7 separate regions of the Homo sapiens genome follow, and regions 1, 2, 3, 4, 5 and 6 are each linked to region 7. The links are contacts of gene promoters, found by promoter capture Hi-C in blood cells and fetal thymus (Javierre and others, 2016). All regions are on one chromosome and are shown on one strand. The core of a region is centred on a gene start or on the middle of the fragment in contact, and the rest is flanking DNA. Distances in the headings are between cores, read along the strand shown.

Region 1 (3,192 bases), core at 412-2,911, 500 kb before region 7:
CCAATTTGTAGTCTTTTATCCCTTACCCTCTTCCCACCCTTTCCCCGAGTCCCCAAATTCTATCATGTCATTCTTATGCCTTTGCATTTTCATAGCTTAGCTCCCACTTATGAGAACATATGATATTTGGTTTTCCATTCCTGAGTTACTTCACCTAGAATAATAGTCTCCTATCTCATTCAGGTCGCTGCGAATGCCATTAATTCATTCCTTTTTATGGCTGAGTAGTATTCTGTCATATATTTATACCACAGTTTCTTTATCCACTCATTGATTGATAGGCATTTGGGTTGGTTCCACATTTTTGCAATTACGAAGTGTGCTGCTATAAACATGCATGTCCAAGTATCTTTTTCATGTAATGACTTCTTTTCCTCTGGGTAGATAACCCAGTAGTGGGAATCCTGGATCAAATGGTAATTCTAGTTTTAGTTCTTTAAGGAGTCTCCACACTGTTTTCCATAGTGGTTGTACTAGTTTACATTCCCACTTCTACATACACAGCAGTGTAGAAGTAGCAAAAACAAACTCTTACTATTTATTTGGCATCTACAAAACCAGAAAATTCAAATAGAATTTTGATGGGCACATCTGAATTTACTTTAATGAGAAGAGAAAAACCATAAAGTAATTTAGGATAAGAGATCAATTGCAGTAATTCCCAGGGTCTGAGAAAAAGTTATGGCATATATTTTCACCATCAATCCTACTTGCTTTGGTTGGAATGTGTCCCCCAAATTGCATGCATTGGAAACTTAATCCCCAATATGGCAGTACTGAAAGGTGGGGCCTTTAAGAAGTGATTGGGTCATGAGGGCTGGTGATCCATTCATGGACTAATGGGTTGATAGATTAATGGGTTACTATAAGAGTGGGATTGGTGGCTTTTTTTTTTTTTTTTTTTTTTTGAGACAGACTCTTGCTCTGTTGCCCAGGCTGGAGTGCAGTGGTGTGATCTCGGCTTACTGCAACCTCTGCCTCCCTGGTTCAAGCGATTCTCCTGCCTCAGCCTCCCACCACGCCAGGCTAATTTTTTGTATTTTTAGTAGAGATGGGGTTTCACCACGTTGGCCAGGCTTGTCTCAAACTCCTGACCTTAGGTGATCCACCCACCTCGGCCTCCCAAAGTGCTGGGATTACAGGCGTGAGCCACCGTGCCTGGCCTGGGACTGGTGGCTTCATAAAAAGAGGAAGAAAGGCCTGAGTGGGCATGCTCAGCCCCCCTGATCCCTGCAGTCCCCACCAGCAACAAGATTCTCCCCAGATGTGGTCCCTCCACCTTGAAATTCTCAGCCTCCTCCCTAACTGCCAGAAATGAATTCCTTTTCTTTATAAATTACCCAGTTTCAGGCATTCTGTTATAAACCACAGAATACAGACTAGGACACTACCCTTCCTACCAGTATCCCTATCTTCCACTTGAAGAAAATACATATTAGTAGAAGTGGGGAGTGAAGGGGTTAAATCCAAGTGCATGTTTCCTACTGCCTCCTCCCACTACAGAAGCTAGGGTGCAGATACATGATCCAATAAGCTTGACCAATTGGATGGTGATGTAATTTGGATCTCCCCTGCAAATCTCATGTTGAGATGTAATTCCCAGTTAGAGGTAGGGCCTGGTGGTGTTTGGGTCATGGGGACTGATCCCTGATGGCTTGGTGTTGTCCTCACCATAGTGAGTTCTCATGAGATCTGATTGTTTAAAAGTGTGTGACACCTATCCCCACCCCCTCGCTCCTGTTTTTGCCATGTGAAGTGCCTGATCCTACTTCACCTTCCACCATGAGCAAAAGCTTCCTGAGGCCTCCCCAGAAGCAGATGCAGGCACTAGGTTTCCTGTACAGCCTGTAGAACCGTGAGCCAATTAAACTTCTTTTCTTATAAATTACTCAGCCTCAGGTACTTATAGCAATGCAAGAATGGCCTAATATAGGTGGTCTCTCCTGGGACTTGAAATCTTGAGGAATAATGAAAATAACCCCTTAATAAATTCCCTTTTTGCTTAAGATAACCCAGAAGAATCAGTTTCTGTTGTAGGAAACAAAGACTTCATTAATGCAAATGTCAAGAGAAAATTCAAACTAGTTTTTACACATCCTACCTGTAAAAGTTTTGAAAGCTACTAAAAGGCTTTCTGAGCTGTTAAATCTGAAGGATTTATAACAGATTGTTATTTTCAAACACGAGTATTCTATGTATACAGTTTGTGTGTGTGTGTATTCACACACACACACACACACACTCATGAACCACACTGTGCAGACTCAATATAAATGTACACCTGAGTTGTGCAACATTCAAATCAATGCAGAAATCAAGCAAAGATTAGATTCAGTGAATTGTAGCTATTTCTTGGAAACATTACCTTTTTTTTGAGACAGGGTCTCACTCTGTCACCCAGGCTAGAGTACAGTGGCGTGATCTTGGCTCACTGCAACCTCTGCTACCCAGGCTCAAGGCAGGCTCAAGTGATCCTCCCACCTCAGCCTCCTGAGCAGCTGGTACCACAGGCCTATGCCACCATGCCCAGCTATTTTTTTTTCCCCCAAGACAGAGTCTCACTCTGTCACCCAGGCTGCAGTGCAGTGGCGCCATCCTGGCTCACTGCAACCTCCGCCTCTCGGGTTTAAGCAATTCTCCTGCCTCAGCCTCCCAAGTAGTTGGGATTACAGGTGCCCACCATCACACCCGGCTAATTTTTGTATATTTAATAGACATGGGGGTTTTACCATGTCGGCCAGGCTGATCTCGAACTCCTGACCTTGTGATCCGCCCGCCTCGGCCTCTCAAAGTGCTGGAATTACAGGTGTGAGCCACCGCGCCCAGCCCACATCCAGCTATTTTTACAATTTTTTTGTAAAGATATAGTTTTGCCTTGTTGGACAGGCTCGTCTTGAACTTCTGGCTCAAGCAATCCACCCTCCTTGGCCTCCCAAAGTGCCGGGATTTCAGGCATAAGCCACCACACCCAGCTGGAAACATCTTTTATCTTAAAAATTCCTAAGCATCCTATAAATTACCTCATTACTATAAATTTAATTTTAACGTAGTATTTTAACACAGTTGCCAGGACCTCATTCAAACCTTCATTTTATAGATGGAGAAAGAGAGCTCACACAGGGGTGTCCAAGGGAGATAATACAGTCATGGGTTCTTAGTTTCCGCTTCTGGTTGGGTCAGTAAATACCTCCT
Region 2 (3,294 bases), core at 562-3,061, 400 kb before region 7:
AATCAAAGCCTTCCGGACAGCCTGCTTTTCTGTTTCTTCCAATAAGAGATACTTATCATTGACATCTTGGAGAGCACTGTCCAACTGAGGCTGGATATCACCTCTCCCTGCAAAAAACAGAGACCCAAGCACGGCTTGCTGAAATACCAGCTTCTGGAACAAGTGCCCCTCCTCCCTGGGGTCCTTGCTGGAGTCAAAACCACAATTTTCCAGGATGTAAAAAAAGTATTTATTCATGCCCCAAAAGGATTTAAGGCAGCTGTTTTTCTAGGACCAGCCATTTCCAATTTTCAATGCCCAAAGGGCACATTTAGCCTGGCTTATTCCTGACAAGGAAAATGTCCTGGGGCAACTCTTCATGACTTGCCTTCTCACACTGCACAACCCCCACCAACTCTTCTGCCAACACAACCCTGGAACACAGAGCCAGACAGCATTCTTTCCTTGCAGAACATTCTGAAGAGGCTAAGAGATGTGGAAACAAGGTAAGAGCCTGTGGGTGTTTCCAAAAACGGGCACGGGCTGGCTTTGTTGGGTCAATCTCAATCAAAGAGCCTCTGTCTGGATAGAAGGATCTGCTCCTAAAGACAAAGGTGGCAAGCATCCGCTCTCCTGGCTCTGGGGGCCCATGGGAATCCTTGGCAGTTCCTTTGACTCTCTAGTGGAGAGTCTTGAATGCTCTTGCTGTAGAACAAGCCCAGTAATAACAAGACCTCCAGACAGGTCTCTGATGATGAAAAACTGAAAGTGGGGTCTATGCGGAGCCTGGCCCATGTTTAGGAATTATCTGGCCAGGTCCACAGACCCCAGTTAGGTGCAGGCAACCACTTCTGGAGTTTAAGACAGGGTGTTAGTCTTTTGAATGACTAACACATGGTCAGCAAACCATCTTTGCAAATAAAGTTTTATTAGAACACAGCCAAATCCATTTATTTACCATATTGCCTGTACCAGTTCTCCCTACAATGGCAGAGTAGTGTGACACAGAGTATGGCCCCCAGACCATGGCCTCTTGCAAAAGAAGCCTGCTGCCCTAAAAGATAAACATGGACCAAGAGGCACTGTGTCCAAAGGAGCAGCTACTACAAATCTGATCTGTAGGTGGGGACAGCAGGGTGACAGCAGGGGACACCAGCTCATGAGCTTCCACCTTGGGCTGCCTATGCAGGGGCCTTACCTATCACTCAAACCAGAGAGATACTTCCTAAACTTCTTCAGGGCAGGATTTTGGTCTTTCCCAGCACAGCCCCTAGTACAATGTCATGTGTGTATACAGCAGGTGCTTGATAAATGTCTGTTTAATAGTTTCAACACAAAATGTTAGAGCTGGAAGGGGTTATCCAATTGGGCCAATCTGCTCATGTTTCAATGGAGACCAAGTCCTAGAGAAGTCAAGGGACTCACCTAAGGTCACAGAAAGAATGGTACAGAGGCAGGGTTGAGCCACACTGCCTAATTCCCTTAACACTGAACCTATTCTCTGCCCCACCGCCTCGCAGGAAGGGCCCTGCAGTTTCCATCTATCCCTCTTAGTGATGTAGAGAACATTAAATGCAATGAACCATTTGGTCTGAAGAAAGAAAGGGTCAGGGAAAATTGCCTTGGATGTAGGAACATATTCTGTATTTTTCACTCATAAGCAGAGGAGAAAGTTTAATTTGGAGCAAGAGGCAATCAGGCTTAAAGCACATCCCAATAGAAAAGGTAGTCAGATTTTAGTAAGGAAAAGTCACTTCTCAGACAGGGAATAAGTTCTAAGTTAGCACATTATGAGAAAATTATAGTCAAAGATCACCCTTGAAAATGCCTTAGATGGCCAGTAAATACAGTATGGACAGCTTTGTGTATATAACTCTCATCAGTCAAGTGAGTACAAATGTGTAGATAGTATGTATCTAAGTCCACGGAGGGGTGCTACCCAACGATTATACTACACTGGCCCCTCCTCTGTGGTTTTGCTTTCCAAAGTTTCAGCTACCCATGGTGTGGTAAAATACGGTATTTTGAAAGAGAGAAAGAGACTACATTCGCATGACTTTTATTACAGTATATTGTTATAATTGTTCTATTATTATTGTTGTTAATCTCTTACTGTGCCTAAATTATGTATTAAACTTTACCATAGACATGTATGCATGGGAAAAACCACAGTATATGTAAGGTTCGGGTACTATCTGCAGTTTTAGGCATCCACGGGGGGTCTTGGAACATATCCCCTGAGGAGAAGGGGGAACTACTATATATAAGAAATTTGCTGCTTGAGAAGTCTCTGCATAATTTTCTCCTTTTTGGAGACAGAGTCTTGCTCTGTCACTCAGGCTGGAGTGCAGTGGAATGATCATAGCTCATTGCAGCCTCAGCCTCTTAAGCAGCTGGGACTACCAGCGTGCACCACCATGCCCAGCTAGTTTTTCAATTTTTTTTTATAAAGATTGGGTCTTGCTTTATTGGCCAGACGGTCTTGAACTCCTGGCCTCAAGTGATCCTCCCACCTCAGCCTCCCAAAGTGCTGGGATTACAGACATGAGCCACAGCGCCTGGGTGTTTCAGCATATTTTCAAGGTGACCCACTCACCCATTCTTCCATGTAGTCACTACCTCCACCCCTCAGAATAATTCTTTACCATGCCTTCAATTTCTTCCTCAAGGATGTAGGAGTAATCATCACCATACATTAATCTGGCCACCTGAGCCACTGGTTTCATGTGTTTTTAGTAGACAAGAAACCTGTAAAAACATTCTCCCATTCTCTCCTGGAATCTGCCTCAGGGCAGGTGCTCTGTTCACAGAGACCCACCACCTGTGGCCAACGGCTTACAGAGGGAAGGCTGGGTGCCACCAGCACTATGAAAACTGTGAGTTTTCTCTTCTATTTTAAAATGCTGGCTAGTGCAAAATTAATCCAGATATACTTAATGTGTGTATGATACGAGTCCACCAGCAGGGAAGCTCTGGAAAGCTGTAAACCCTTGCTTTTCCTCTGCAAGCAGCCAAACAGCATGGCCAATTGTGGGCCTTGTTGGGTCACATGACTCAGGGCTGGTCTAGAGGGCTACTTCTAGTCTCTCGATCTATTCTATGATGTTCTAATAACAAAACACAGAGGGCTGCAGACCACCTCAGAATGTTCTCAACTCTCGTGTAGGATGGTGAACAGAAGTCGGGAGACACCAGATTGAGACACATTGTGTTTGACCAAACTTGCTCGGTGGGCTTTGATTATGGTAGCAATTTAAAAAAATAACAGCCTATGAGGCCGGGAACGGTGGCTCATGCTTCTAATCCCAGCACTTT
Region 3 (3,235 bases), core at 28-2,527, 460 kb before region 7:
CTTTAGGGTGGTAATTATTTCTAGTATGAGGAATGTAACAACAGCCATGATTGTGCACATACTCTGCATGACTCATGTCACTATGGGCTTTATGTGCCTTATGTTAAGAAAGGTAGGCAGCAATCTCCCCATTTTAAAGGGGATGCACAAAGGGATGAAGTGACACCAAAGGCAGTTGTAAATCTCACCCAAAGATCTGCTGATTCCAAAGCTCATCCTTTTAACATGGTCATACACCGCCTTCACTTACCATTATTTTTCAGACACTACATCTATTGTATATTAATTTTTCTGTCTTGCCCCCTAATTTTCTATTTTTCTTTTCTCATACATCTCCTTTTTCCTGACTACATATTTACTTAAAAACAAATCATGGCCGGGTGCAGTGGCTCATGCCTGTAACCCTAGCACTTTGGGAGGCCGTGGTGGGCGGATCACTTGAGGTCTGGAGTTCGAAACCAGCCTGGCCAACATGGTGAAACTCTGTCTCTACTAAAAATACAAAAAAATTAGCCAGGCATGCTGATGGGCACCTGTAATCCCAGCTACTTGGGAGGCTGAGGCAGGAGAATTGCTTGAACCTGGGAGGTGGAGGTTGCAGTGATCTGAGATTGCACCACTGCACTCCAGCCTGGGGGACAGAGTGAGACTCCATCTCAAAAAACAAACAAACAAACAAACAAACACAATCATACACTGGTTGTTCCAGATGGTAGAAAAGTGCAGACCAAAATCTGAAGTCTTCCAAAAATAAACCCAATAGTGAAAGCTGAATTATAGGCTTTTTATCCATGCTGCTCAAAGGGAATAAAAAAGAAAAGAACCTTCCCTCTGTATTAAATATTCAACAGACATTTACTAAGTGCCTACCATGTGCTGAGAGTACTGTGCTAAGTGCTATGGAACTGTCACATGAGTAAGACTTGGTGTGTGCCTTTGAGGAACTCAAAGACACCTGTCTGTTGCGGGGAGGAAGGGATAATGAAAACCCATTTCTGTACAACATGGTAAGTGCTGAAACAAGTAGAGTGCTGTGTATACAAAACAGATTGCATGCTGTGAGTATATGCGAGGGGAAAAGGAGTGAGGGGCAGAGAATGTGGGTATTTGTTTCCTTAACAATAATCAAAATGTGATTGTTACTAGTGTGTCTTTTTTTTTTCTTTTGAGCGGAATCTTTCTCTGTTGCCCGGGCTGGAGTCCAATGTCACGATCTTGGCTCACTGCAACCTCCTCCTCCCCAGTTCAAGCAATTCTCCTGCCTCAGCCTCCCAAGTAGCTGGGATTACAGGTGCTCGCCACCACGCCTGGCTAGTTTTTGTTTTTAGTAGAGACGGGGTTTCACCATGTTGGTAAGGCTGGTCTTGAACTCCTGATCTCAGGTGATCGGCCTGCCTTGGCCTCCCAAAGTGCTGGAATTATAGGCATGAACCACCGCACCCGGCTGTTTTTTTAACCAAGTCATTTGATGTTTTATTATTAAAATTTTAAAAATCTCAAGTAGAACTGCCTATCTTATCAAAATTTCCTCCTACTTTGTCATTAGCTTATCCACTCTGGAAGAAGCCAGTGTCATATGCTGTCACCTTAGAGCATCCCCCAGAAAGTCAGTCCTTCCCTCTGCTGTTCACATACTTTAGTAAGCACTTCCAACCTATTTTAATTATTTATGTCCTCTCTTGGAAAAAGTCTTATTCTTCTTTGTATCATGCTGAGGAGGCACTTGGTAATCATTTACTGAATGTAGTTTGAACCTCTCTATTAGCAATTAACGCTTGGCATGTGAGTTCAAGCACAAGCTGTGATATGCATATTCTAAGATCAGACGCTATTCTGATGATGGTGAAGAATCTTCAGAACAGTTAAATTAAACTGATACTGTCAATGTTTTCGATTAATCCCAAAAGTGAGTTTAAAGTATTGAGGTTGCATTTTAGAATCAGTTCTAACTCATTTTGGATGAAAAGTCATATGGGCAAAAAAACACGGGGACTCTGCCATTGCCCTTGCTTGTCATAACACAGTCTATTAGACTTACAAGGCTTATCCTGACCAAAACCAGACATGAAAGTTGAGGAATATGATATCTGGGCTTAACCTAAAGAACTATTAAAGAGAACTGTTTTTCTATTTCAATGTGAACACGAGAACTTTTAAGGTTAAGTGAGCTGGCCTACATAATATTCGACAGAGGTATAGGGCTTCAGTAACCCTGCTAGTAACCACATGAATGTCCCTGAAAGGCACAGCAAATCAGCAAATAATATACCACAAACTAAACAGTTCTACAAGGGATGTACAAATGAGCGACCTAAAAGAGAGAGTAGGTATCCACAGAGCATTACGTTAACCCATCCTATTCTACTTGGTTATAGATCTTCACACTTCAGAACTTTGGAGCTTGAGGTCTAGGGTATGACAGACTCCACTAGCAGATCTGCTCCTCCCCAAAGTGATTTTCAACCAGGGGGTACATATCAGAATCCCATTTGTGGGGAGCAGGGAGGGAAGCGGGAGGAAGTACACTTTCCTCATGCGTAATTTAAAAAAATCCCTTCAGGCCATCAAGTCACTGGCTTAATCATATGATCATATCACCATATGACAAAATTATTAATTGTTAAACATTATGATATAGCTGGATGGTATCTTAAGAGAGAATCTGATCCTAATTCTTCTTTGTGTATAAGAAACTAAGGAGGACAGAGGATTGTTTATTCTTAAAGGTCTCTAGGGACAGATATTCTACCTTATTCATATTTCTGCATACTATGAGCTCTCAGCAGTGGCTGGCACACAGTACTCCATAAATATTTGTTCAATGGATGAATAAATTAACCCCCTTTAGAAGCTCAGTCTAATGTTTTATCATTTTCATAATTAAGATGTTTTTGAAATTCAACAAAATGCTTACGTTTTAAATTCAGACTGTGACCTAAATTTTCTTTTCAATCTATAACACTCACCCACCAGTATGATGACAGGAGCTCCAAATTTAGCTCCAGGCAATGGGTTACAGGAAGTCCTGCAGGGTCGTGAGCTTTGGAGTTTTCTCAGAAGCCACCATTCAACATGGCTCCTATTAAAGGAATCTCACAGTTCCAAACTAGCAATATTCAATGCCCAGCAAGAGTAAAATAAGCTTTTCTAGCTTTGGTGATTGATCCTATAATACTTTTGTGGGTTTTTTCTTGCTGGTTTTTTTTAGAGACGGAGTCTCCTTATGTTGCTCAGG
Region 4 (3,661 bases), core at 38-2,537, 480 kb before region 7:
AGGAAACCACATTAAAGTCAAGGAAATAAAATAATTTGACCAGAGGATAAAGGACATGAGAGAGTATTTTAAAACTAAAGAAAAAATTAGCTGCCAGAAGCAACTGAGGACCTTTTTTGAAACTTGAGTAGCAGTGTAATTGAGCTGAGTTTGAAAGTCCTGATTCAGAGAGAGACTGAGGGTTGACAAATAAACTGTATCAACTAAACTTTGATATAAACCAGAATGTGCTAAATGTTTTTTATGTAAAATTGTATATTTGTTAGCCATTCTGTGTCTGCAGTATTGTCATAAAATTGTCCTTTCATTCTTTTGAAGATATTACAAAACAAAAATAGTTTTTTTTAAATTGTTTTAAACTAAGATACTCAATGATATAAAAACATCCTGATCTGATTTTACGAGAAAAAGAAGGGGAATGGTGGGGAATGGTGTGTACCGATATATAGTATTTCTTTAGACAACTTGCAGATAATTTCTTTATTGAAACTATCAGGAAGTTTTACTATGAAATTTTACATACATGATGGAAAGTGGAAGACATATACCAATTATATTCCAGGAAAAAATACTTTAATAGTATTGTTATATAGTGTATTGGCTAATTCCAGTGGATCCTCATCTCTCACTGCTGACATTATCTCCAATATTTGACTAAAACAAAACAAAAACAAAAATGGTTAAATCTCCAAGTATACATTTAGTTCTAAAGCTATATAATATTTTTCCACACAAAGGAAAATATTGGCACACCTTTAATATAATAAAGCTTAACAGTTATTAAGTTTTTCAGCAATATCAATAGAAAAACTTACTGCCAGTAACTGGAAACAGATTTATGGACTGTCTTGCATATAACTAGAGCTAAGAACCAGGTTCAAGTAAATTATTAAAGCAGCCATCTGTATTATGTTCACCAATTATAGCATTAACTGAGTGGAAATGAAGAGTCCTTTTCAATTGTGAGTCATAGCATGTTCATTAGTGGGTCATGATGAGCATTTTAAACATTGACAAGTACATTGTACTCAATAAGGGTAAGTACTGTTCCATTTTTTGTTAGGTTTTATTATGTATGTGTGTCCTAAGTCACAACGTAATTTGTACTGTGGGACAGCAGCCACAGTTGGAAATCTACTGCTAGAGAACTAGTCCTTGAGAGACAGCAAATGAAGGTATTAGGTTGCTGCAAAAGTAATATTTACTTGGAAAAATGTGTGGTTATTGAGGGCGAGGGCTTTCTGTACCTCTACCCTTGCGAGAGAAATAAGCCCAGGTGTCCATCCTTCAGTTTCTTTCTTTCTCTGTCTCTCTCTTCCTTCCCTTCCCTCCCTTCCTTTCCTTTCTTTTTCTTTCCTTTCTTTTTTTTTTCTTTTTTCTTTCTTTTTTGAGACGGCGTCTTACTCTGTTGCTCAGGCTGGAGTGCAGTGGCACGATCTCGGCTCACTGCAACCTCTGCCGCCTGGGTTCAAGTGATTCTCCTGCCTCAGCCTCCTGAGTAGCTGGGATTACAGGCACCTGCCATCACACCCAGCTAATTTTTGTATTTTTAGTAGAGACGGGGTTTCACTATGTTGGCTGGCCGTGGTCTTGAACTCCTGACCTTGTGATCCACCCCACCTGGGCCTCCCAAAGTGCTGGGATTACAGGTGTGAGCCACCGCGCCTGGCCGCATCTTTCAGTTTCTGTGCTTACAGTAATGATGATCCGTAGTGTCTCCATACTTATTATATATAAGTGGAAGATTTTTAATACATGAATTAGAAAGTTCCAAAGTCCAAATTGAACATTTAAATATTCTTTGCCTAAGCTTTTTGTTCCCTTAGTATCTTAAATGTTAACACCTAAAGGAATTAAGGATGGAGATCTAAGATTAATGGGAATTTAAAAAATTGTTTTGTAATGTGACACAAAAGCCTTGCTTGATGTTTATACTAAGCAAACACTACACTAAAATTTTATCTGACAGTCAAGATACACTAAAAGCAAATCTATTAACATTTAAATTAAGACAGTGAAAATCCATTTTTCTTAGGAAACTACTGAATGTCCCTCTGTATGCACTTCTCAGAATTGGAACTCTTGATTAATGCTGCTGATGACACAGTTTTGAAGGTCACAGCAGCTTTGCTAAGATTATATTGCATAGCAAATTCATTTTATTGAAATCGCTTATAAGAAATCTATTGGGCTGGGCCCAGTGGCTCATGCCTGTAATCACAGCACTTTGGGAGGCTGAGGCAGGCAGATTGAACTCAAGAGTTCGAGACCAGTGTGGGCAATATGGTGAAACCCTATTTCTAGTAAAACAAAAAAAATTAGCCAGGCATGGTGGTGGACGCCTGTAGTCCCAGCTACTCGGGAGGCTGAGGCAGGAGAATTGCTTGAACCTGGGAGGTGGAGGTTGCAGTGAGCTGAGATTGTGCCACTGCGCTCCAGCCTGGGCAACAGAGCGAGACTCTCTCTCCAAAAAAAAGAAAAAAGAAAAAAAAATCTATTGGAGCTTAGGACATCCTATTTTACTGTTTGATAATGCAGTTTATGGAAATCTTTCTTCGAATAACCCTTCTGTAGCCAAGCCATGCTATTTCCATACATCTTCAGTGGTCAAAGCTGCAGTTATTCCAAAATGAATATAAAGTTGTTTAATGTCCCTGAGAATTTAGTGGCTTTTGTTTAATGTGGCACTTTTACAGTAAGCACAGGTTTTTGTTTTTTTTTTTTGAGAGAGTCTTACACTGTGGCCCAAGCTGGAGTGCAGTGGTGTGATCTTGGCTCACTGTGTGTGATCACACAGTGGTGTGATCTTGGCTCACTACAACCTCTGCCTCTCAGATTCAAGTGATTCTCCTGCCTCAGCCTCCCAAGTAGCTGGGATTACAGGCGCCCACCACCATGCCCGGCTATTTTTTTGTATTTTTAGTAGAGACAGGGTTTCTCCACGTTGGCCAGGCTGGTTTTGAACTCCTGACCTCAACTGATCTGCCTGCCTCGGCCTCCCAAAATGGTAGGATTACAGGTGTGAGCCACTGTGCCCAGCCAGGCAAAGGTTTTTAAAGTCTTGCAAGATCTACATGATTCCTACCCTATCTCCTTTCCAGCCCTTCCCCATACTGATACAAGTTATAGCTTTAAAAAAAATAATTGCCACTCTCCTGCTTAAAATCCTTTGGGTAGTGATAAAATCTAAGCAAAATGCTGGCATATAAGAGCCCTCACAATCTGGGCTCACTCTACCTTCCCAGACTTGACTTCTGCTTACACTGTGCATCCTACTTTCTGCCACACTTGTTCCTCTGGATTAGCCAGGCCCTTCTGCAGTCTGCCTTTGCTTAAGGTGTTTGTTTGTCTTTCTCTGGCCTAACTCCCAGTCATGGGTAAACAACTGAAATGTCACCTTGGTATAACTCTCTCCTGTTTCCCCTCAAAGCAGACAGTTGATGTGCCCTATGGTCCTGGTCATAGATTCCTACTTGTATAACAGCACTACTATCTTGGACTCTGTCTGCTTATGTGCTCCAGGAGGGCAGGGGTCCTCGCCTGACTCACTGAATGCCTTATCTAAAGTGCCAGGCACAGTGTACCTATTCATCTGGTGGATGGATAAAGACAGGGACTGTCTTGGTTCTTCCTGTGTAGCCTTAGTAACTTGTACCTTTCC
Region 5 (3,604 bases), core at 947-3,446, 420 kb before region 7:
CTCCATCCCAAAAGAAAAAAAAAAGAGAGAATGGTTTCTGGGTTTTAAGCTTTAACATCTGGAGTTTGGTGATGTTTACTGAGATAGGGAAGATTGGGGAAGGGGGCACAGGTGTCAGAGCAGCAATCGAGAATTCATTTTGGAAGTGTGAAGTTTTGAGAATCCTGTGAGACATCAAGTGCAGATGTCAGAAGCCAACTTCAGATGTGGAAATCTGGAACTCCCAGGAGAGATTTGGCCTAGAAACAGAAACGTGGGAGTTTTCAGTTTTAAAAGCCATGGAGAGATGTATGGAATCCTTAGGAGAGAGTATAGAGAAAAAAGAAAAGGAAAAAGGATTCTTTGTGCATTATAATTGGGCAAAAGATTGTATATAAATACATTTGGGTTAGAAGTTTTGAAGATGACAGACTTGTGTGATAGCTTCCTTTTTTTAGTGAAATAAGAGGAAAAGCCCAGAATGAGTGGGTGCAGCATATTTGGAGAATGTGGACAAGATGTGATAGTCATGAGGCGAGGAAGAGCTTGCTGGAGAGTAGTAGGATGGCCAGGTGGCAAAGGCCCATTTGAGGTTGGGAATAATCAGTGGGTAATGACTCCGATTTGCTCCCATATCTTTTTTCTCTTTAGCAATACTAAGCTGTATGAGCACAGGCCTGAGGGTATATGGTTCGGTTTGTCTGTTGCTCAGAGAGTGACAAGGGACTTGAGGTTATTCGAAAGGAAGCTGTTGTCATGATGGAATCTAAGCTGAATTTAAAAAAAAACAAAGTCAAGCCAGTGGGGGCAGATGCAGAGAGGGAAGGCCAAGTTGGGAGGATCTGTGAATTGGTAGTCTGAGTTTCAAGGAGGCATTTAAACAAATGAGTGGGAAAGGGAGAGTGTGGTTGGATAGTGGGATATTTGAATTCATGATTTGGAAGTTGTGCTGGTTCTGGTGATAACACTGAGGATATTGACCTTTGGAAGTGTTTGGCCAAGGGGGACCCGAAGGAAGGGCACTGTGGCCAAAGGGGGCAGTGTTTTGTCAGAAATGTCTCACCGTTTAGAAGCTTGAAGTATATGCATGGTGAGCCGCAGGTGCATTCTGCAATTGATCACTGGGATAACATCAAACAATTCCTCCTTTACACATCCCATCACTTCAACACTATTAAGCAGCACGTGTGACTGGAGGCCCAGGGCAGCCACAATCCAGAATGGGTGATCTTCTGTTAGGACATTTATCTTGGCCATAACTAGAACTGGAGGTAGTAGGGCAGCACTTGGCAGAACTGAGCATATTTTTACATGTAATTTTGTGATTTATTTTTGTTCTTGGTTGCTAGGAAGGGGGCTTAGAATTAACATCCCCAGCATATTATGAACTGAGGTTTCTTAATGGTGCTTTTGGAGAACACTTAGCTGAGACACAACAATAAATGTTTTTCTGGTCAGTGGGTGGGGGCTGTGACAAGGAGAATTGGAATGATAGTTGTCATTTTTCTGTCTGCAGAATAAGAGGAGGTCCAGATAATGAGGTGATGAAAAGGGGTAGGGGGAAGAATAGGAAGGGTAGGCTTTGCTATTTAAAAGAATGGGAAAACCCTTAAGGAGACTTTTCTAAAAGTGTGGATATGAAAATAAAGCAGGTATATGTAAAAAACACTTTTCAATATTGTGATCAGATAGTGTGTAATGTCAGTGACACACCATAGACATAAAGCTGACCCTTCACTGCAGCAGACAGATTTTTATAGTCAATTAGATTCCTTTGGTAATGATTCCTTCCTTGCCTCCTTCTAGGTTAAGCAGCTGCAGGAGGAAACGCCACCTGGTGGTCCTTTAACTGAAGCTTTGCCCCCTGCCCGAAAGGAAGGTGATTTGCCCCCACTGTGGTGGTATATTGTGACCAGACCCCGGGAGCGGCCCATGTAGAAAGAGAGAGACCTCATCTTTCATGCTTGCAAGTGAAATATGTTACAGAACATGCACTTGCCCTAATAAAAAATCAGTGAAATGGTCTCTGGTATGACTGACGTTCTTCTAAGAATTACTGTGATGCCAAGTGACTGTGCCACTGTCATTGTTTTATCAATCGTGCATGTAAAGAAAATGACAGGACATGTAGTCAGTCAGCTGTGTTCTCTGCAATAAATCACTGATAGCATATGTTACCAGTAAGGAAAAACTGAGGCAGAACCAGATTGAGGCGAACAAACTCTCAAGTCAAAGGCCTAATTAGCTGTGGTAACTAGAAGGAATAAACAAAGCCAAGAACAGAAATACTGAGGATTTAAAAATAACCTTTTTGGTTTTCTAAAGATTTCACTAATGGAACTTAGTTTTTATTAGAAGAACAACTCTCCCTAAGAAGTACATAGTCAACAAATAAGCATGGAATTTGTGGAGTTCTGTCAGGGGTGGAGGTTTGATGGTTGGGGTTAAATGGTCCAATCTGGGATAAAACTTTGTGGCGCTTATTTTAGAAGCAGTTTTCCAGCTTTGCTTCTGCTACCGTAGCTTGGATTGTCTGCGGACTCAAAGGTAAGGGAATAACAGAACTCCTTAAATGTTTCAGAAGCTTTGTTTTTGTTTTTTAAAGATAAAGCAGTTTTTAAAACTTTCAACCCAAAACAGCTGCTTTTAGTTCTTGATCCCTCATTAGCTAGAACTGTTTTCAAATAGTTTCAGGCAACTAATGATCTTATAGCCATCACAAAAATATTTTGTCACTTTTCTACGTAAGCTCAATTTGAGTCCCAGTCCATCTTCTAACATTTGACTAAGACCTCAAACTGAATTGTAACAAGACTTGAAATACAGGACTTTTTTAATCTAGTGGTTCTTTATTTATAACGTAGGCTGAAGCAATTGTTACAATGTAGGAGGGAGACACATTACACAATTGTTATTTATACAAGTTTAGAACAAAAAACTGCACAGGGAGAGGTCAACTCTCAGTACAAACTAGCAACTAAAGCACAATAATTTACTGTTAGAAACGATTTCTTTCTTTTTAGCTGTGACACTGCTTTTACAATATGCAAAAACACAAGCAGAACTACCCAAGGTGTGTTGTCACATTCTTTCTACATTGAATTTGGCAACATTTTATTTATTCAGATTATACTAACGTTTAAAAACTAAACAAGTGAAAAGCTGTACCAAGGTACAGTTACATCCATTTATTTCAAAGGTTTAAAATACCACTTTTATCTATTGTGATTACCTTGCAGCGATTTCTGCTTTTGCAAAAACCATCTCAAGCATCATATGCACAATGCATCAGCTACTTTTAGTCATCAAGATTGGTGGGCTAAACCACAGGCACTACTGTTGTTTATATTCTGTAAAAGGAGCTTGTTTTTCAAAGAAAAAAGCTTAAATAGTTTCTAATAATCATGCCTTTGCTTTAAAGCCGTAACATAAAATGTCCTTGAGCAATCGCAGCAGTGTTCAATGTTAATATATAGAACAATGACCATACGGTACGTTACTCTCACATCCAATGCAGTTATGTGTTAAAGCATAAGATTAGGTAATTGAGGGTTAGAGCCAACAGGAATCTGCAGGGTGTATGAAACCCACCAAACTCCTCCTCTGCCTTGAGAGGGTTCGGTCA
Region 6 (3,351 bases), core at 140-2,639, 380 kb before region 7:
TGGGCAGGAGACCTAGGGTAAGCTTATATCATTAAAAGTCTGGCTTTCAAAATGTGCTGAAATGCCTTAAGTATAAATGTTTGGCATTTAAACCTGCCATGATGATTTTCACTTCTTTGGAGGGTTAGGGGGAGGCAGTGTCTTGCTCTGTCACCCAGGCTGGAGTGCAGTGGTGCAATCTCTGCTTACTGCAACCTCTGCCTCCTGGGTTCAAACAATTCTCGTGTCTCAGCCTCCCGAGTAGTTGGGATTACAGGCATGCACCACCACACCTGGATACTTTTTGTATTTTTAGTAGCCATAGGGTTTCACCAAGTTGGCCAGGCTGGTCTCAGACTCCTGGACTCAAGTGATCTGCCCACCTGAGCCTCCTGAAGTGCTGGAATTACAGGTGTGAGCCACTGCACCCGGCCTATGATTTCTTCTTTTTCTTTTTTTTTGTTTTTTGAGATGGAGTCTCACTCTGTCGTCCAGGCTGGAGTACAATGGTGCAATCTTGGCTCACTGCAACCTCTGACTCCCGGGTTCAAGCGATTTTTGTGTCTCAGCCTCCCAAGTAGCTGGGATTACAGGCACCCACCACCATGCTTGGCTAATTTTTGTGTTTTTAGTAGAGATGGGGTTTCAACATGTTGGCCAGGCTGGTCTCAAACTCCTGACCTCAAGTGATCCGCCCGCCTCGGCCTCCCAAAGTGCCGGGATTACAGGTCTGAGCCACCGCGCCCACCCTGTGATTTATTCTTAATTCAGCTGAATACAATTCATGCCACTGAGGGATCAGACTATCAGCTGCTGAATGTTGTTTCACACCAAAGAAACAGCACTCAGCCTCACAACGGGATCACTTTGTTCTCCTCATCCCCTGACACGGACGTGCCTACAGGAGAGTAGGGACAGAGTGGGCCCTTGGCTGTTTTGGTGACACCAATAAACCTAGCAGAGGGGCCAGGCAGCAGCTGGCAACTTCCCACAGCGCCCCCCAGCGTGCAGTGATGCGCTAGACATCTCGCCCCTGTACCTTTTGCGTGGTCTTTATCCAGCTGGTTGGCCACTTTCTTCCATTCTTCCATCTGTTCTTGAAGTGGGTTTATCAGACAATCAATTAAAGCGCTTTTACCAAGCGGGGGGGAAAAAGGGAGAAATTAAATAGATACATTCTGTTGTCAGGATTTAAATGTGGTTGTCAAAACATACCTAAATCACAATTACCCGAAACGTTCTCATCTAAACCCCGGGGCTCCAGAACAGCCATGTTCCAAGAATGCTTTTCTTTTAAGACAGAGTCTCGCTCTGTCACCAGGCTGGAGTGCAGTGGCGCGATCTCGGCTCACTGCAACCACCACCTCCCAGGTTCAAGCGATTCCCCTGCCTCAGCCTCCCAGGTAGCTGGGACTACAGGAACACATCACCATGCCCAACTAATTTTTTGTATTTTAGTAGAGATGGGTTTTCACCATGTTGGCCAGGATGGTCTTGATCTCCTGACCTCATGAGCCGCCTGCCTTGGCCTCCCAAAGTGCTGGGATTACAGGCGAGAGCCACCGCGCCTGGCCCCAAGAATGTTTTTCAATGACTACTAAGAAGCTGTCAATGTGACTGGTGGGAGTGACCCTTCTTCCCATTTTCCCTGTGATATTCTAGTGTTTGTATTAACAAGCCAAGTTGCAGAACCACAGGGGTCACCCCTCTGAGAGCTGCACAACAGGGACCCCCAAAATGCAAAGACACCTGGGCCTTATCTCACCCCCAATGGAGACTTTGAGGGTGGGGCCCAGCATCACTATTTTTAAAAAAGACCCACAAGATTCTGCTGTGCATGCGGCATGACAGGTCATAAATATACACTAAGTATGCACAGCCTGGAGAAAGAGAAGAGTGACGAGACCCAGAAAATTCTCGAGCTGCACTGCCAGCCTCGGGGTTACTGAGGGGTGAAGGTCTCTGAAGGTGTGCCCCTTCATTTTGTGCAGTCTCCCAAACAGAATCACATAAAACTGCTGAATGATGCTGATCTGCTTGGAAAGCAATGTCCATTTTCACTTGAACATTTGTAACCCAATTCCGGTGCCAGCTACTACCATTTCTTCCCTATTCTGGATGCCTGGAAGCCAGATGGGAAGCTGGCGGTGTGGAGTGGTCTGTGAGCTGCCACATCCCTCAGTGAGTCTGGAGGATGCACACAGGATACCAAGGCACATCTCACTCTCCAATTTCACAGCCCCTCTTCTTGCGAGGCTCCCGCAGGGCAGTGGGGGCCCAAAAGACCTCAGCAGGCTGCACCGGCTCCTTGCACAGACAAAGGGTAAGGAGAGACCCATGCAGGAGCACAGGCTCTGTGAAGGCAGGGGCCTGGCTGGCTGGTGATCTGCTGCACCCCCAGGGCCTCGACCAGTGCCTGGTATGCAGCAGATGCCTAACAATACTCAGGCAATGAATGAGCCAAGTCAGACAGATTGTGGGGATTTAAATGCTGTGTGCCACACATGACTGCTTCCTTAACCTGAAATCTGCAAGGGTGTTGGCGATCGGGGCCAAAACATGCTCCTCACCTCGAAAACTGCCTCAGCTTGGCTTCAATGCTTCTGTGCCTCATGCACATCCTGGTGAGAGCAGATCCAATCTCCCTGGTCCCACCTGAAAAAGCAACAGAGGCAAAGGTGAGGGATAGAAGACTAGCAGGGATCATGGAGGTCTTTAGAGAACTTTACAAACAAGTCAGATTTCACCACATTGTAAAATATAAGCCACCATCTTTAGAAGCTTCTCACCATGCCCATGTGTGCATACACACAGGCACATGTAAACATGTATGTACGTATGGTGACAGATTTCTGTATCACCAAAACTATCACCAAAGGCTGCTCCTACTATATACCACACTCTGTTAGTTTCTATTCCATCTGATTTTTTTTGTAATGCTGATTGTAATCTAAAAATTGACTTTACAACCTATAAATCGACCATGACCTGTAGTTTGAAAAATACTTCTCATGAAAGATAATCAATATAGTATCTGCTGTTTAGGGAAGAGCTGTAGCTTTTCTCAACAATTCTGACAAAATAATCCCGTTAACATTATTTAGAACAGCCAAGGCAGCCACGCTAGCTAATTATTTCAAGACAAATGTTCTAGAATACAAGTAATTCAGAGAATAGCAAGGCTAAAGCAAAATGAGGTAATAGGACTTTTTTTTTTTGAGATGGAATCTTGCTGTGTTGCCCAGGCTGGAGTGCAGTGGTGCAATCAAGGCTCACTGCAACCTCTACCTCCTGGGTTCAAACAATTCTCCTGCCTCAGCCTCCTAAGTAGCTGGGATTACAGGCACGTGCCACCACACCCAGCTGATTTTT
Region 7 (3,204 bases), core at 677-3,176:
TATATGGAAGGTAAGGAAAGGGAAGTGAAAAGAAGGGCTTCTGGGTTTCCATATAACTGGATGGATGGTTGAAAGAATATTGGAAGAGAAACAGGTTTATTTTGTTTTATTTTGTGTTTATATGTGTATATGGAGAAGAACAGTGAGAGAGAAGACAGATTATGATTTTGATTTTTGACATTTTGGTTTTGAGGTGTTATTGAGACTTCCTGTATGAGATGCCAAATAGACCATTGGTTATGAGTGAAGAGCTCAGACATGTAGCTTGGGCTGGAGAAGTAAATTTTTGAGTTGTCTGCCTAGGTGGTATTTGAAAATGTGGGAGTGGATGAGATTGCCTAGGCAGAGAACATTCAGTGATAAGAGGAGAGGATGATCTTGAGGGACTGACTTGGAAAAGAGACTAACAGGACTGACTAGAGATGTTGGAAGAAAAGGAGGAGAATGTGATGTCACCTCAAAAGAGTGTTTCTAGAAGACGAGTCCGTAGCCATATCAAACCTCCTGAAAAAGGACCCGAGAACTAAAAATACCAGTTGCACTAACTAACATCATGGAGGTCATTGGTGATGCTAGTGATTTTTTTGTTGTTGTTGTTGCAGGAGAAATGTTAAGGTTAGTGGAAAATTGATGAAATGGAAACATTGTGAGTAAAAAGAGAAAAGAAAAGCTGAGGGACTATTTGGGGATGGGGGTGGAGGGATGGAGAGTTTAGTTGGTAGTGCGAAGTTTCCAAGAAGATAGGTAGGAAAGTGAGTACCAGTAAAGGGCTTATTAAAATACCAAAGAGCCCAGCACTTTGGGAGGCTGAGGCGGGCAGATCATGAGGTCAAGAGATCAAGACCATCCTGGCCAACATGGTGAAACCCAGTCTCTACTAAAAATGCAAAAATTAGCTGGGCATGGTGGCGCACACCTGTAGTCCTAGCTACTTGGGAGGCTGAGGCAGGAGAATTGCTTGAACCCGGGAGGCAGAGGTTGCAGTGAGCCGAAATCCTGCCATTGCACTCCAGACTGGTGACACAGTGAAACTCCATCACAAAAAAAAAAAAAAAAAAAAAAAAGGTCACAGAGGGACTCTGTATTGTAACAGGAGGGAAGAAAGAAAACGGCAGGGTGCAGACTTGAGTAGATTTCTGTTTGGTAGAGGTGAGATGAAGGGATTGGCTTCTATTTTCTCTGTAATGAAAGAGGAGGGATTAACTACTTTTCTAGGTGTTAATAAGGGTGCCTTGTAAACGAATTGTTTTATATGTGAATGGATGCCTTAGCTTTCTAACTTTCACAGGTAAGTAAATATATATCCATGTTCATAGCGGTGGGAACAGAAACAATAGGTGTTTAAAAATACTAGATTGAGGCCGGGCGCGGTGGCTCACGCCTGTAATCCCAGCACTTTGGGAGGCCGAGGTGGGCGGATCACGAGGTCAGGAGATCGAGACCATCCTGGCTAACCCGGTGAAACCCCGTCTCTACGAAAAATATAAAAATTAGCCGGGCATGGTGGCAGGCACCTGTAGTCCCAGCTACTCGAGAGGCTGAGACAGGAGGATGGCGTGAACCCAGGAGGCGGAGCTTGCAGTGAGCCGAGATCGCGCCACTGCACTCCAGCCTAGGCAACAGCGAGACTCCGTCTCAAAAAAGAAAAATACTAGATTGATTTTGATTCTAATAGTGATGATAATTAATCTGATGATATTCTGATGGCAAGGAAAAGTATAAGCTCCAATCAGGCCCCTGTCGTAAGCCGCCTGACAAGTGAGAGAAATGAGGTTCACAGTTGGCTGGTCACAGCACAGGGAAAGGAAATCCACCCCCACGCTCCTTCTGGTCCAGGACCCTAAGGGTTAAGATCAACGAGAGTGGGCCATCACTGTTTCCTAGAACGGCCCCAGCAAAGCCGCCGGGGGAGATGAGGGTAACTTCCTGTTTCTGCCTTCCGGGTTTGAGAGTTTAGGACCCTGGGTTGGTGGGGTCAGAGGGAGAGGGGGTACCTTCCTCCCGGACCGCTGGGGGTGCAGGGCGCCTTGGGTGTAGCACCCAGAACAGTGAGTTCCTTCTTGGGGGGAAGGGAGCCGAGGGTTGCGGGCTAGAGGAGTGGAAACAGCCCCGTCCAGGCTGCAGTGGACGTCCGGGAGAGAGTTCCCGCTGCTGCCAGGGGCGAAGGCCCAGCATCTCCCGCCGACGGGCCACCGTCATCCTTGTCCGCGGGGTCCCTTACGGGATCTTGTCGGCCGGAGACCGTCTGGTATCCTGGAACTTCACCCCCCAGCGTCTCCAACTTGTACCAGCCAGCGGTTCTTAAAACTAGGCTTCAGGCAGTGCATTTTCTTTGAAGGCTTTCTGATCAAAGCACGGCCCCACTCTGATCACATTGTTGCTCTAGAACAGTGAAAACACTCCTTCCCCGTGGAGAGACATCTTAATGGCAGCCTTGTATGGTCTTGCATTTGCCACCATTTTGCTGAGCCACTGTTCCGGGGGCTCCTTTGCTGCCAAATTTAATAGTATTTTAGTAGGGAAAATGGGGGAGATGGTAATGTGTTGCCCAGACTCTTGCTGCTTTTGTAAATACTTTGATAACAATATGTAACTTAGGACAGCAAAATATATAACTCCATTCGAACAACTCCACCCCCTTCCTTTTTTTGCATTCAGGTGTATGGTTTTTTCTCCCCCCCAACTCAAACACTGGGGATATTAGTAATGTAGACTAGTTTCACGTTTCTCTAGAACAAATCCCCACTTGCTGAGTGTGCTTAGGGAATGTCGACTCACTTTGTTAACAAGGTTTAGGAATGTAGACCTCTGTTTTAAAATGCCAGTATTCTAAATATTCTAAAATAAAGGGACTCTGAGGATTCTTTGCAGTTTGGGATTATGCCCAGCTCTGCTTCCTGTTCTAGTTTACGATAATAGATCAGAGGGTGAAAAAGGTCAGCATCCAAACAGACTTGGAGCTCAGTCCTGCTCTACCACTTTCTAGGTGACCTTAGGAAAGTTTCTTAATACCTTTCAAACTCATCCTATAAAATGCTGGTAGTTGTTCATACACTTCAGAGGGCTACTGTAAGAATTAAATGACAAATGTGTGCAAATTATTTCATTCACTACCTGGCACATAATAGGCAGTAATGGTGAAGATACAATATAAGTACATATACTATTTTTTGTTTTTAAAATGTGTGCATTTGTATATCCTTT

The links. The method cuts DNA at HindIII sites, captures the fragments that hold promoters and counts their contacts. A CHiCAGO score of 5 or more calls a contact.
Region 1: a fragment that was not itself captured here is called in contact with the fragment with the promoter of ZNF572 in region 7 in 3 of 17 cell types (fetal thymus, naive B cells and total B cells); the score reaches 6.6 in fetal thymus.
Region 2: a contact is called between a fragment that was not itself captured here and the fragment with the promoter of ZNF572 in region 7, in 16 of 17 cell types (naive B cells, total B cells, fetal thymus and 13 more). The highest score is 25.6, in naive B cells.
Region 3: a contact is called between a fragment that was not itself captured here and the fragment with the promoter of ZNF572 in region 7, in 4 of 17 cell types (total B cells, naive B cells, erythroblasts and 1 more). The highest score is 8.2, in total B cells.
Region 4: a contact is called between a fragment that was not itself captured here and the fragment with the promoter of ZNF572 in region 7, in 3 of 17 cell types (naive B cells, total B cells and fetal thymus). The highest score is 8.5, in naive B cells.
Region 5: a fragment that was not itself captured here is called in contact with the fragment with the promoter of ZNF572 in region 7 in 14 of 17 cell types (total B cells, naive B cells, endothelial precursors and 11 more); the score reaches 20.3 in total B cells.
Region 6: a fragment that was not itself captured here is called in contact with the fragment with the promoter of ZNF572 in region 7 in 16 of 17 cell types (naive B cells, total B cells, fetal thymus and 13 more); the score reaches 20.1 in naive B cells.

The regions. Positions count from the first base shown.
Region 1 is chr8:124,469,324-124,472,515 of GRCh38, forward strand. All of the region lies in intron 1 of RNF139-DT (RNF139 divergent transcript), which reads right to left. Among named protein-coding and RNA genes, the nearest start is that of RNF139-DT, 3.6 kb to the right of the region's middle. RefSeq lists an enhancer at 2,171-2,672. The HindIII fragment of the contact is 259 bases long and covers 1,533-1,791 here.
Region 2 is chr8:124,568,430-124,571,723 of GRCh38, forward strand. It overlaps MTSS1 (MTSS I-BAR domain containing 1), which reads right to left. Exons shown (of 14, transcript NM_014751.6): 7 at 1-107. LOC105375740 (a long non-coding RNA gene) reads left to right here and starts at 454. Exons shown (of 2, transcript XR_928608.3): 1 at 454-485. The HindIII fragment of the contact is 8,842 bases long and covers 1-3,294 here.
Region 3 is chr8:124,511,767-124,515,001 of GRCh38, forward strand. All of the region lies in intron 6 of TATDN1 (TatD DNase domain containing 1), which reads right to left. Among named protein-coding and RNA genes, the nearest start is that of MIR6844, 4.8 kb to the left of the region's middle. The HindIII fragment of the contact is 3,726 bases long and covers 1-3,140 here.
Region 4 is chr8:124,488,043-124,491,703 of GRCh38, forward strand. RNF139 (ring finger protein 139) reads left to right here. Exons shown (of 2, transcript NM_007218.4): 2 at 1-576. TATDN1 (TatD DNase domain containing 1) reads right to left here. Exons shown (of 12, transcript NM_032026.4): 12 at 456-654. The coding sequence ends at 552. Among named protein-coding and RNA genes, the nearest start is that of RNF139, 15 kb to the left of the region's middle. The HindIII fragment of the contact is 1,041 bases long and covers 768-1,808 here.
Region 5 is chr8:124,547,976-124,551,579 of GRCh38, forward strand. It overlaps NDUFB9 (NADH:ubiquinone oxidoreductase subunit B9), which reads left to right. Exons shown (of 4, transcript NM_005005.3): 4 at 1,786-2,004. The coding sequence ends at 1,917. MTSS1 (MTSS I-BAR domain containing 1) reads right to left here. Exons shown (of 14, transcript NM_014751.6): 14 at 2,809-3,604. Among named protein-coding and RNA genes, the nearest start is that of NDUFB9, 11 kb to the left of the region's middle. The HindIII fragment of the contact is 729 bases long and covers 1,833-2,561 here.
Region 6 is chr8:124,588,602-124,591,952 of GRCh38, forward strand. MTSS1 (MTSS I-BAR domain containing 1) reads right to left here. Exons shown (of 14, transcript NM_014751.6): 4 at 2,550-2,634; 5 at 1,019-1,110. Among named protein-coding and RNA genes, the nearest start is that of NDUFB9, 51 kb to the left of the region's middle. The HindIII fragment of the contact is 2,738 bases long and covers 21-2,758 here.
Region 7 is chr8:124,971,369-124,974,572 of GRCh38, forward strand. ZNF572 (zinc finger protein 572) reads left to right here and starts at 1,927. Exons shown (of 3, transcript NM_152412.3): 1 at 1,927-2,048. RefSeq lists an enhancer at 1,870-2,029. The HindIII fragment of the contact is 4,233 bases long and covers 1-3,204 here.